Regions from separate parts of the Homo sapiens genome. Here regions 1, 2 and 4 are each linked to region 3. Evidence: promoter capture Hi-C in 16 types of primary human blood cells and fetal thymus (Javierre and others, 2016). All regions are on one chromosome and are shown on one strand. Each heading gives the region's core, a stretch centred on a gene start or on the middle of the fragment in contact. The rest is flanking DNA. Distances are from core to core; before and after follow the strand shown. Region 1 overlaps LOC101927413 (a long non-coding RNA gene). Region 2 overlaps LOC101927413 (a long non-coding RNA gene). Region 3 holds the start of TRHR (thyrotropin releasing hormone receptor). Region 4 overlaps NUDCD1 (NudC domain containing 1).

What was found. The method cuts DNA at HindIII sites, captures the fragments that hold promoters and counts their contacts. A CHiCAGO score of 5 or more calls a contact.
Region 1: a fragment that was not itself captured here is called in contact with the fragment with the promoter of TRHR in region 3 in 2 of 17 cell types (megakaryocytes and endothelial precursors); the score reaches 6.3 in megakaryocytes.
Region 2: a fragment that was not itself captured here is called in contact with the fragment with the promoter of TRHR in region 3 in 2 of 17 cell types (endothelial precursors and megakaryocytes); the score reaches 6.7 in endothelial precursors.
Region 4: a contact is called between a fragment that was not itself captured here and the fragment with the promoter of TRHR in region 3, in 1 of 17 cell types (endothelial precursors). The highest score is 5.1, in endothelial precursors.

What each region holds. Positions count from the first base shown.
Region 1 is chr8:108,907,992-108,910,691 of GRCh38, reverse strand. All of the region lies in intron 3 of LOC101927413 (a long non-coding RNA gene), which reads left to right. Among named protein-coding and RNA genes, the nearest start is that of TMEM74, 120 kb to the right of the region's middle. The HindIII fragment of the contact is 1,649 bases long and covers 477-2,125 here.
Region 2 is chr8:108,928,240-108,931,012 of GRCh38, reverse strand. All of the region lies in intron 1 of LOC101927413 (a long non-coding RNA gene), which reads left to right. Among named protein-coding and RNA genes, the nearest start is that of TMEM74, 140 kb to the right of the region's middle. The HindIII fragment of the contact is 191 bases long and covers 1,375-1,565 here.
Region 3 is chr8:109,085,245-109,087,944 of GRCh38, reverse strand. It overlaps TRHR (thyrotropin releasing hormone receptor), which reads right to left and starts at 1,360. Exons shown (of 3, transcript NM_003301.7): 1 at 1,062-1,360; 2 at 1-520. The coding sequence starts at 432. The HindIII fragment of the contact is 732 bases long and covers 926-1,657 here.
Region 4 is chr8:109,282,163-109,284,862 of GRCh38, reverse strand. All of the region lies in intron 5 of NUDCD1 (NudC domain containing 1), which reads left to right. Among named protein-coding and RNA genes, the nearest start is that of NUDCD1, 51 kb to the left of the region's middle. The HindIII fragment of the contact is 522 bases long and covers 1,184-1,705 here.

The DNA of each region.
Region 1 (2,700 bases), core at 52-2,551, 180 kb after region 3:
CTCCTAGAGTTGCAGAGCAAGACAAAGCAAGTAGAGTCGGTATCTGGAGACCTTTTTGCAAAGAAGGTAGGTTTTGGTGTGATTTTTAAACTCTTGGTATTAACTATTTTTTTATTCTTTTGTATTATGATGTTTTAAAATCAACTTTTGAAGGGTTTTTTGCTTGCTATATGAAATATATTATTAAACTGATTTAGTTGTCCTATATTCTTGGAAAGTATTTCTGGTTGCAAAAGGGTGGCATTTTTGTAGGAGCAGATATTGAAACTGCTAATAAATTAGAATCAAATAATAAGGGAGAATTCAATTCATTTTGGAACCAAAAAGGGAATGAAACACTTTTGCAAATTGATTTGTATTAACTAAATGCTCCCTTTAAAAAATAAAATTCTGGAACGATGACATTTGCTCTGCGTACAACGTGTGTGATCTTTTTAAGATATCAGGTTATCTTTGTGAGATTTAATTTGTAAGCTTTCTTAGAAGGAAAAACATTTTAAGTAAAAAAGAAGTATTTTTTAAGCTATTATGCTTAGTGTATAATTTAACTTAAATGGAAAATGCATAAATGCACTTGATATCTTTTAACAATTGTGCAATTACAATATAATTATTCTTCCTATGCGCAAAGATTAAATAAACTGCATTTCAACGTTAAATACCTTAAGAAGTATGACTGTAGTGGGAGGTCATTAGGTTAAATTCTAATAATAAGCAAATCATAAAATTCTGTTCATCAACCAAGTACAGAATTCAAGTAAATACACATCTATATGTATAGTTAATGGAAATTTATTTTTAGCTTGAGAAATGAAATAGGCATAGTACAGCCCCTGAATTCCTACTTTGCTTGAATAAATCCTCAGCTGAAAAATATTATCCAAGTTGAAGAAAAATGTCAGAAACAAAAAGAAACCCAAAAAGAGGCAAATCCTAAGAACTTTAATCAATAGGAATGGGTACCTAGGGAAAAAAACAAAAACGAAAACAAAAATTACCTAACATTCATTGAATACCAGACCTGAGCTAACACTGCGCTGGGTGTTTTGTATATGTTGTGACATTTAATCATCACAATAATCCATTGATGTAAGTATTGTCATATTTATTTACAGACCAGGCCAGACAGCTGGCATACAATGCTGCTGGAATTCAAACTTTGAAATGTCCCACTCTGAAGCTCATATTAGAACTATCAGATGAAGAAATGCATGAGATGACTAAAATTATGTAATGAACATCTTGAGGAGGTCAAAATTTTTTCAAGTCACTACAGCAAAAGATGTTTTCTGCCATTAAATAATGTCTTATATATTCCTATAACTATTCTAGTTAAATGTATAATTGTGTTCGTATGTGTTAATTAGCATTTATGATCCATGTTTACAGAGTGCACGCACTGTGTTAGACACTGTATTAGAAGTAAAAGATATTGCAATGAATGCTCAGGGAAACTAAGTTCTAACAGGGGAAATAAACAACACAATAGCAGCTTTTGATAAATATTAGGTGGAACAATATGAAACTGCCATGTTGGTTCAATATCAAAATTTCATCTGATTTGACCTAACTATCTAAATATTAAAGTATTTTTTCAAGTGTCCCTACAGAAACTCATGACATACATTTCTGTTATTTGAATATTCTTATACATTGTTTTTTATGGGATTCGATATGCACTGAGTCTCTGCAGAGAGTAGGCAGTTTATGGAAGAATATACAGTAAATCTGATCAACTTCTTAAGAATTACTTAACCTTTACTTTAGCTTTCTGATAAACTCTCAGAAGACATCTGGCAATATCTGAAGACAGTTTTGGTTGTCATACTGGTACCTGTTGAGTAGAGATCAGGTATGCTGCTAAAATCCTAAAATACACAGGACATTCCCCCAATAGGAAAGAGTTATCCAGCTCAAAAGGTTAACAGTAACACACTTGGGAGATCCTGCACTCAACACAAGAAGGGACCAGGCAAAGTTAATTGGGGGGAAAAAAACAGTAATATAAGTATACATCCCAAATCTTGGAGTTTAGCTTTCTCCAAACACCCATTGTATATGTCTGTTGAGGTAATCAAATCTTATGGTGAAAAATATGGACAGGAGTAAAAGTTAGAATGAAGCTTAAGAAAAGTCTTCATCAACATTTAAGTTAACTAAAATAGGACAATAAACTTGACACACTAAATAAATTTGTTATCAATGATCTCTCCTAAGTCTCAAATGAGTAATAATGGGTACTATAGAAGTCCTGTAATTTCTACTCATCCTTCCTTGCTCACTGGAAAACTTAGAGGATCTCCCTCCTCTGAAATTTCTAGCAGATGCTTATAAATTTGTTTTTTGTAAACAATATGTGCACTATTTTATTTTCTATATCTAGTATTCTGTGTTTTTTTAATTTTTTTTTTTTTTTTTAGAGACAAGCTCTCTCTAGGCTATATCACTAGTCTCAACTTCCTGGGCTCCAGCCATCCTCCCACCTCGGCCTCCCAAAGCATCAGGATTACAGGCGTGAGCCATTGCTCCCAGCTTATTTTTTTATTGTTGTGTTTGGGGGACTTTGAATATACAATAAACTAATCAGAGTTATTGCAAACTGTTATCATTAATTCATGCCAGCCCTCATTTTATTTTACTTTAATGTTTATCATCATCTTTTATCTAGACCTCGTTCTTTTTTTCCCACCAGCTATACCA
Region 2 (2,773 bases), core at 221-2,720, 160 kb after region 3:
TGTTTGTCTGTGCCCTGCCCCCAGAAACTCCACGCAGTTCGAGCTTCCCAGCTCCTTTGTTTACCTAAGTGAGCCTGGGCAATGGCGGGCGCCCCTCCCCCAGCCTCGCTGCTGCCTTGCAGTTTGATCTGAGACTGCTGTGCTAGCAATCAGCGAGACTCCGTGGGTGTAGGACCCTCCAAACCATGTGCGGGATATAATCTCCTGGTGTGCTGTTTCCTAAGCCCGTTGGAAAAGCGCAGTATGCGGGTGGGAGTGGCCCGATTTTCCAGGTGCCGTCTGTCACCCCTTTCCTTGACCAGGAAAGGGAACTCCCTGACCCCTTGCACTTCCCAAGTGAGGCAATGCCTCACCCTGCTTCGGTTGGCCCACGGTGTGCTGCACCCACTGTTCTGCACCCACCGTCTGGCACTCCCTAGTGAGGTGAACCCGGTACCTCAGATGGAAATGCAGAAATCACCCATCTTCTGCATCGGTCACGCTGGGAGCTGTAGACCGGAGCTGTTCCTATTCGGCCATCTTGGCTCCTCCCCCAAACTTAGCATCTTAAGACAATGCCCTTTTATTATCTCACAGTCTTGGGAAGCAAAAAGTTTAGGAATATATTAGTTGAGTTTTCTGCACAGGGTTTCACCAGGCTGAAATTAAGGTATTAGCCGGGGCTATAATCTCATGTGGGGCTCAAGGACTAGTAGATCTAGTTGTTACATAAGCTGTACCTAGTATGGAATCTAACAAAATGAGACTATTATCTTTGGAAAGTGGGGGTTAACAATGGGGCTGGGAAAGAAGCTATGCCTTGGAGATCAACAGCTCTGGGTTTAAATTCTAACTGTGGTGTGTATGAGTTTTAATTTTATCACCTACATAAAAGAGAATATTTTACTTATTTTACAGGATTAAGAGATTAAATGAAATATCTGAAAGAGATTGACATCTAGCTATGTCTCCTAAGCATCTATATTTATTACTAAGCATGAAAACTCAAACATATTTCTGAGATGGGAATTATGAAAAAATATTCAAAGTTTTGAAAAGATGTTGAGGTGATAGGAAAACAAAGTCATGTCCAGCTTCACTTGATAATGAGGGTGCAGTAGTGTGGTTAATAAAATTGAAAAGATCAGGAAAAAGTCACAGAAACTGCTTTAGTTATTTCATTTATTTATTCATCCAATATTTGTATCTGTGTGAGAGCCTACTCTGAGATGGGCATCTTTCTAACTGTTGAGAATACAGTGGTGAACTAACCAGACAAGGACCTCACCCTTTGTATAGTACGGCATTTCCTAAAATGTATTGACTGAGATGTTATGATTCCTACAAATTAATAAATGAATAAAGGATTTCAAAGTCAAATAAATTATTGAAGCTTTATGTTATGTGAAGTTTTATGTTTGCTGTAGTAGTTCTCAGAGCCTTGAATATGCAAATGAAAATTGTGAATCTATAAGAATTAGATATAATATGTAGCATTTCCAAATTATTTTACTTTAGAGCTTCTATATAGAGGAACACATACTAATATCTTGCAGGAGACAGCTTGAGAAGTGCTCAATGAAGCTTTAAGTCAGATTGAATAAATGGATTTATAAAGCAATATTAAAGGCTTGTCAGTATTTGGATTTCATTCATTGGTAATGGATCCAATCATGAAAATTATATGATGTTATTTGGCACAATTCCACAGCTTAACAAAAGGCCTAGAGAAAATGGGCAGCTGATTTGTCTAGGTGTAGAAATTGACAAAGTGATTAAAATAAACTATGGAGGTGTAACAAAATCCTAGAGGCTTGTGAAATAAAGATAAATCAGTGAACCATGTATTCCAGCCTGGATAAGGAGGAAAGCAAAGCCTCAATAATTTGAGAGAATAATGAGATATGGAAATATTAGAAGTATAATGCTATTGCTTAGAAGTAAGAAAATGTGGAAGAAAATTATAGTCAGAGAGACACATTTCAAGTTTCAAGATATCAGATGTGAAAAATGGATGAAAAGTGATGACATTGTTTAGGACATAACTGTGGATTCATTGCTAAAGTGGAATGAAGAGAAGGTAAAAGCCTTATGAGTCCATAGTATACAAATGGTTGTCCATTTGAAGAATGAAGTTACTTAAGCATCTAGAAGATTATGAAGTAGAAAAGAGAACTGTGGTTCTGGCATAAATAATTTATGCATACTGGGTAGGCACCTGGAAATTGGTGGAATTATGACTTTTAAAAGTTAAGTCCGAGTATGGTGGCTCACACCTGTAATCCTAGCATTTTGGGACGCCGAGGTGGGCAGATCACTTGACGTCAGGAGTTCAAGACCAGCCTGGCTAACATGGTGAAACCCCATGTCTACTAAAAACACAAAAATTAGCGAGGTTTGGTAGTGGGTGCCTATAATCCCAGCTACTGGGGAGGCTGAGGAAGGAGAATCACTTGAACCCAGGATCTGAGCCGAGATATCACCACTGCACTTTAGCCTGGGCAAAAGAGCGAGACTCTGTCTGAAAAACAAACAAACAAACAAAGTTAATATGTGGTCTTCGAAGTAGGCATGGTGGAACCAATGTAAAAATCTAATGGCTTTGAATGAGACAGTAGGAAGCAAGGATATTGCCAACCTTTCCTTAAAGTCAACAGATTTAATGCAAGTAGGAGTGCCTTTACATGGAGGTTCCATGGGTAGTACAATATAAGGGAGAGTGGGTCTCGAGTTCAGACAAACACAGGTTAGATTCCTGACTCTGCTGCTTACTATGTTACAGCCTTATTTAAAT
Region 3 (2,700 bases), core at 111-2,610:
CTTTTTGGCTCTGGAAAATGTGCAGAGAAACTGGGCTTTGATGGGGTGACAGATTGCTATGTACCTCTCAATGGTAAAGGCTGTTATTGAACAAGAGGATGCATTAATTCCCAAATACTGGAGGTAAGTAATGCAGAGGCATCCAACATAGCCATAGACCCAGGAACCGTAGATACTGTCTGTTATGTTGGGGAGGCCTGCGGCCACCAAGACCATGAGATCAGCTACTGCCAGGCTCACCAGGTAGCAGTTTGTGGGGGTCCTCATGTGCTTGGTTCTCATGACAACCAGGACTACCATGATGTTGCCTACAATGCCCAGGCCACAAATAATGAGTACAAGTAAGATGGTGACCACCTGGTATTCTAAGGCCACCACTGCTCGTGGCTGAAGCTGTGTTTGGTTCAGTTCACTGACTGTCTCGTTTTCCATCTTTAGAAGCTTAAAGTTTCTCGGAAACACTGACTTCTCAAAACATCTTCTTTCCAGCGCCCACCTTTATTGCAGCAGTTCCATCCCCCTGTGAAGGGTCATAGTACATATTCATTAACAGTGTTACAATTTCTGATCAAGTCCCAATCACAAATAACCGTCACTTCCACTCCTTTCACTTCCCATTTTTCTATGGGAATAGGGCTCATGTGTACTTCTTAAAACTTCTTTTATTGCATCTCTAGTGTAGAATGGAGTAACTGTTTTGACCAGCTCACATTAAGAGGGACCAGTTCCCTCTTAATGGAGAAAAATGCTTAAGGAAAGAGAAACAGTAAAAACTAATTGTTTTGAAACAGTGCCCAGTTGAAAAAAACTAAATATCTGCTAACTGAAAAATAAATATGAATACACCTCTTAGATGCCTGGCAAAAGTATAATAAAGAAGAAAAAGATACCAGAGGAAAAAGCCAAGAAGCTCAATAATCAAGCTTGTTACAAATTTAGCTGTTGCCTCTTTTGCTCTCAGAGGGTGAGATGTCTTTGGTATAAAATAGCAAGCCTTTGAGATGACATTTCCCCATGCCCCCTGCCCCACAGATTCAAGAGAGGACAATTTCTTCTCTTACCTTATCCTCTGTAGCGCTGCCTGATTTTCTGGGTAGATGAAGTGGTAATAGTTCCAAGTTTCTAATCTTGCAGAAAATCTTGTCTACTCTATTTGAGAGGGAGACCACTTAGCAGTGCTCAGTCTTTAAAACTGCAGTTTCTCCAAACCCTCACAGCCCTTTCCAACTAATGACAAACCATACAGCCGCGGCAGAAGCAGAAGCAGCAGCAGGAGCAGCAGCAGTGAGGCTGTCAAATCATAGATCGTCCCCTAATGAGAACATACACGCTCGCTCGCTCTCTCACACACAGAGACACACACACACACACACACATACATTCACACACACTCACAGATGCCAGTCAGTCCTCACTGATTCAGAGTCTTCTGCTCTTGGAGGATTTACTATTAAATGTGCTGATGAGACAGTCTTTAATTTGGAAAGCTGAAATCATAAGCCAGGGGTCTAGAAGCAGCTGGCTTTGTCGTTGCTTATCATCTAAGTTCTGCAGAAACTCTAGTACCTGAGCTGCTCTGAAATACATTTACACTCCTTGCTTGATAGGACTTTGGGGTTAGCAAATCCTTCTCAGTCTAGACATGGCCCTTGAAGCTTGAAATATCTGTCTGAGCTGAAATCAACCTCTTTCTCTACTATGAAAACCCTTGTACTGTTTCTCAAGTGAATCAGTACAATTGGCTTCCTCCTCTCATATTTTGTGAATGGAAAATTAGTTAAAGTTGATTTCAAACCATTTCAGCTGCAATCTTCTGATGCTTATAACAATTATTTTTAAAAGGCCTCTTTGAGCTAAGAACATCAATTTAAACTGCGTAGGGTCTGTTAAGTTTTTCAACTCTTATTTCTGGACCACTTTATAGAATCTCTCTATCGGCCCTGGGTGCTTTTCACCTTCACCTGTCCTCTGGATTTCCAGTCACATGAACCACCTAGCAATGTTTTGTCTCAGTTTATTTCTAGGTGGAAAAATCATCTAGTAAAAATCTATACCAGTGCCATTCTGTTACCAAACCTCTGAAATGAAAATTAATAGACACATCTTTTGAAGAAAAGTACACTTCAGCATTATTATTTCTCTAAAGTAGCCAGTGGGCAAATCTACAGTTTGTTTTTTTTTTTTTAACTTTGAGACAGGATCTCACTCTGTCACCCAGACTGGAGTGCAGTGGCATGATCACAGCTCACTGCAGCCTCGACCTCCTGGGCTCAAGTGATCCTCCTACCTCAGCCTCTTGTGTAGCGGAGACTACAGGTGCACACCACCACGCTCAGCTAAGTTTTGTATTTTTTTGTAGAGATGGGGTCTTGTTATTTTGCACAGGCTGGTCTTGAACTTCTGGGCTCAAGTGACCCACCTACCTCAGCCTTCCAAAGTGCTGGGATTACAGGTGTGAGGCACTATGCCTTGTCTTAAATCTATTTTTTTAATGGAAGCTCAGAAAACATGTATCTTTTCTCAAGATACCAACTGAATACATCAAATGCTGATGCTTCTCCACTTTTATTTTATTAACTGACAATGAAAAATACCCTTAGCTAAATTTCCTGTAAGGTAACTGGTGGATTAAGAATAGACCTCTAGGCTGGGCACGGTGGCTCATGCTTGTGATCACACCAGCACTTTGGGAGGCCGAGG
Region 4 (2,700 bases), core at 195-2,694, 200 kb before region 3:
TCATTGTTTGCATATTTGGGTCTCAATTTCATTCAGTTTTGCTCTGATTTTAGTTATTTCTTTTCTTTTGCTAGCTTTGGTGTTAATTTGTTTTTTTTTCTTGTTCTTCTGGGTGTGATATTAGATCATTAATTTGAGACTTTTCTTACTTTTTGAGGTAGATACATAGCACTTTCCTCTTAACACTGCTTTTGCTGCATCCCAGATAATTTCCATGATACTGTGTGGTTTTTGAGAGATCTTCTTGGTATTGATTTCTATTTTTATTCCACTGTGATCTTAGAGTATGATTGGTATGATTTCATTTTTTATAATTTATTGAGACTTGCTTTATGGCTGAGTGTGTGAGTGATCTTGGAGTATGTTCTGTGTGCAGATGAGTAGGATTTATATTCTGTGGTTGATGGGTGGGGTATTCTGTAGATGTCTGTTAGATTAAGTGTCAAATTTAAGTCCATACTTTTTTTCTTTAGTTTTCTACCTTGATGATCTGTGTGATGCTGTGAGTGGTATGTTGAAGTTCCCCACTATTGTCTTGTGGCTAAGTCTTTCCATAGGTCTAGAAGTACTTGTTTTTATGTATCAGGGTGCTCCAATGTTGAGCACATATATATTTGGGATAGTTCAGTCTTCTCATTGAATTGAACCCTTTATTATTATGTAATGCCCTTTGTCCTTTTTTACCTTTGTTGGTTTAAAGTCTGTTTTATCTGAGGTAAGAATTGTGACTCCTGCGCTTTCTGTTTTCCATTTGCATAGCAAGTTTTTTTCCAGCCCTTTACTTTGAGCCTGTGGGTGTCATTATGTGTTAGATGGGTCTCTTGTAGAATGCCGATGGGCCTTGTTTTTGTTTTGTTTTTTTTTTTTTTTTTTAATCCAGCTTTCTACTCTGTGCCTTTCAAGTGGGATGTTTTGATCATTTACATTTAAGGTTAATATTGTTATGTGAAGTTTTGATTCTATCATGAAGTTGTTACTGATTGCTTTGTAGTTTCTATTGTATAGTTGCTTTACAGGGACTATGGCTCTGTCCTTGTGTTTTTGTGGTAGCAGATACTGTTCTTTTGTTTCCCTGTTTAGAACTTCCTTAAAGATCTCTTGTTAAGGCTGGTATAGTGGTAACTGATTGTCTTAGTGCTTGCTTGTCTGGAAAAGATTTTGTTTCTCTTTCACTTATGAAGCTTATAGTTTAGTGGGATATGAAATTCTTGGGTGGAATTTCTTGAAAAATTCTGCAAATAGCTCTCAATCTCTCCTGGCTTGTGAGGTTTCTGCTGAGAAGTCTGCTGTTAGCCTAATGGGGTTCCCCTATGTAATCTCTTTTCTTTAGGTGCCTTTAAGGTTTTTTCTTTAGTGTTGACCTTGGACAGTCTAGTGCTATATGCCTTGGTGATCTTCATTTTGTATAGTATTTCTCAGGGGTTCTGGATTTCTTATACCTGAATGTCTACCTCTCTAGCAGGATTAGGGAAATTTTCTGAATTATTCCCTCAAACATGTTTTTCAGTTTGTTTAGTGTTTCTTCTCTGGAATGCCAGTAGTTAATAGGGTTGGTTACTTTACATGATTTCATATTTCTCAGAGACTTTGTTCATTTTTTTAAAATTCTTTTTTCTTTATTTTTGTCTAGCTGGACTAGTTTGAAAGACTGGCCTTCAAGTTCTGGAATTCTTTCTTCTGCTCAGTTCAGTCTGTTGATAAAGCTTTCAATTGTATTTGGAAATTCCATAAGTGAGTTTTTCAATTCCAGAAGTTTGTACTGATTTCTTTTAAAGATGTTTATCTCTTCCTTCATTTCTTGGATTGCTTTAGAAGTTTCTTTGTATTGATTTTCAATTTTGTCTTAGATCTTGTTGAGCTTCCTTGCAATCCATGCTTTGAATTCTTTGTGTCTTTTTTCTGAGTGTCTATTTTGGTTAAGGACCATTTCTAGAAAGCTAGTGATATTTTTTGTCATGTCACTACATTCAGATTTTTTTTATGGTGCCAGAATTCTTGCACTGGTTTCTTTTTTTTTTTGGAATTTTTTTATTGTACTTTTAAGTTCTGGGATACATGTGCAGAACGTGCAGGTTTGTTACATAGGTATACACGTGCCATAGTGATTTGCTGCACTCATCAACCCGCCATCTACATTAGGTATTTCTCCTAATGCTATCCCTCCCCTAGCCCCCCACCCCCCGACAACCCCGGTGTGTGATGTTCCCCTCCCTGTATCCATGAGTTCTCATTGTTCAACTCCCACTTATGAGTGAGAACATGTGGTGTTTGATTTTCTGGTTTCTTATCTAGAGATTCTGGCACTTCAAATTTTTATAATATTTTTGTGCAGATAGGATTTTTTAGTTTTCTTTCTTTCCTTATAATATTATTTTTGTTTGTTTGTTTGTTTGTTTTCTTTCTCTTTCCCTCTCTAGGGGGTGTGACTATAGAGAATGCAGAGTAGGGTCTTTGGGCTTTGCTTCCATAGCCCTATGCACTTCTGTTGGCAGGTTGTATATTGGGCTATGCAGTTTAACCTACAAGCCAGTAGATGGTGCTTGTTAGTAACAGCCAATTGCAGCCAGTGCAGCAGGGTATATACTTAATCCTTGTTTACTGGGAGAACTCTCTATTGCCTCAGGCAATGGGCTGATTCTTGGATTGCACAGTTGTCTGAGCTCCCTGCTCAGCCCCGGGGAGTAGGGGCCAAGATGGGCA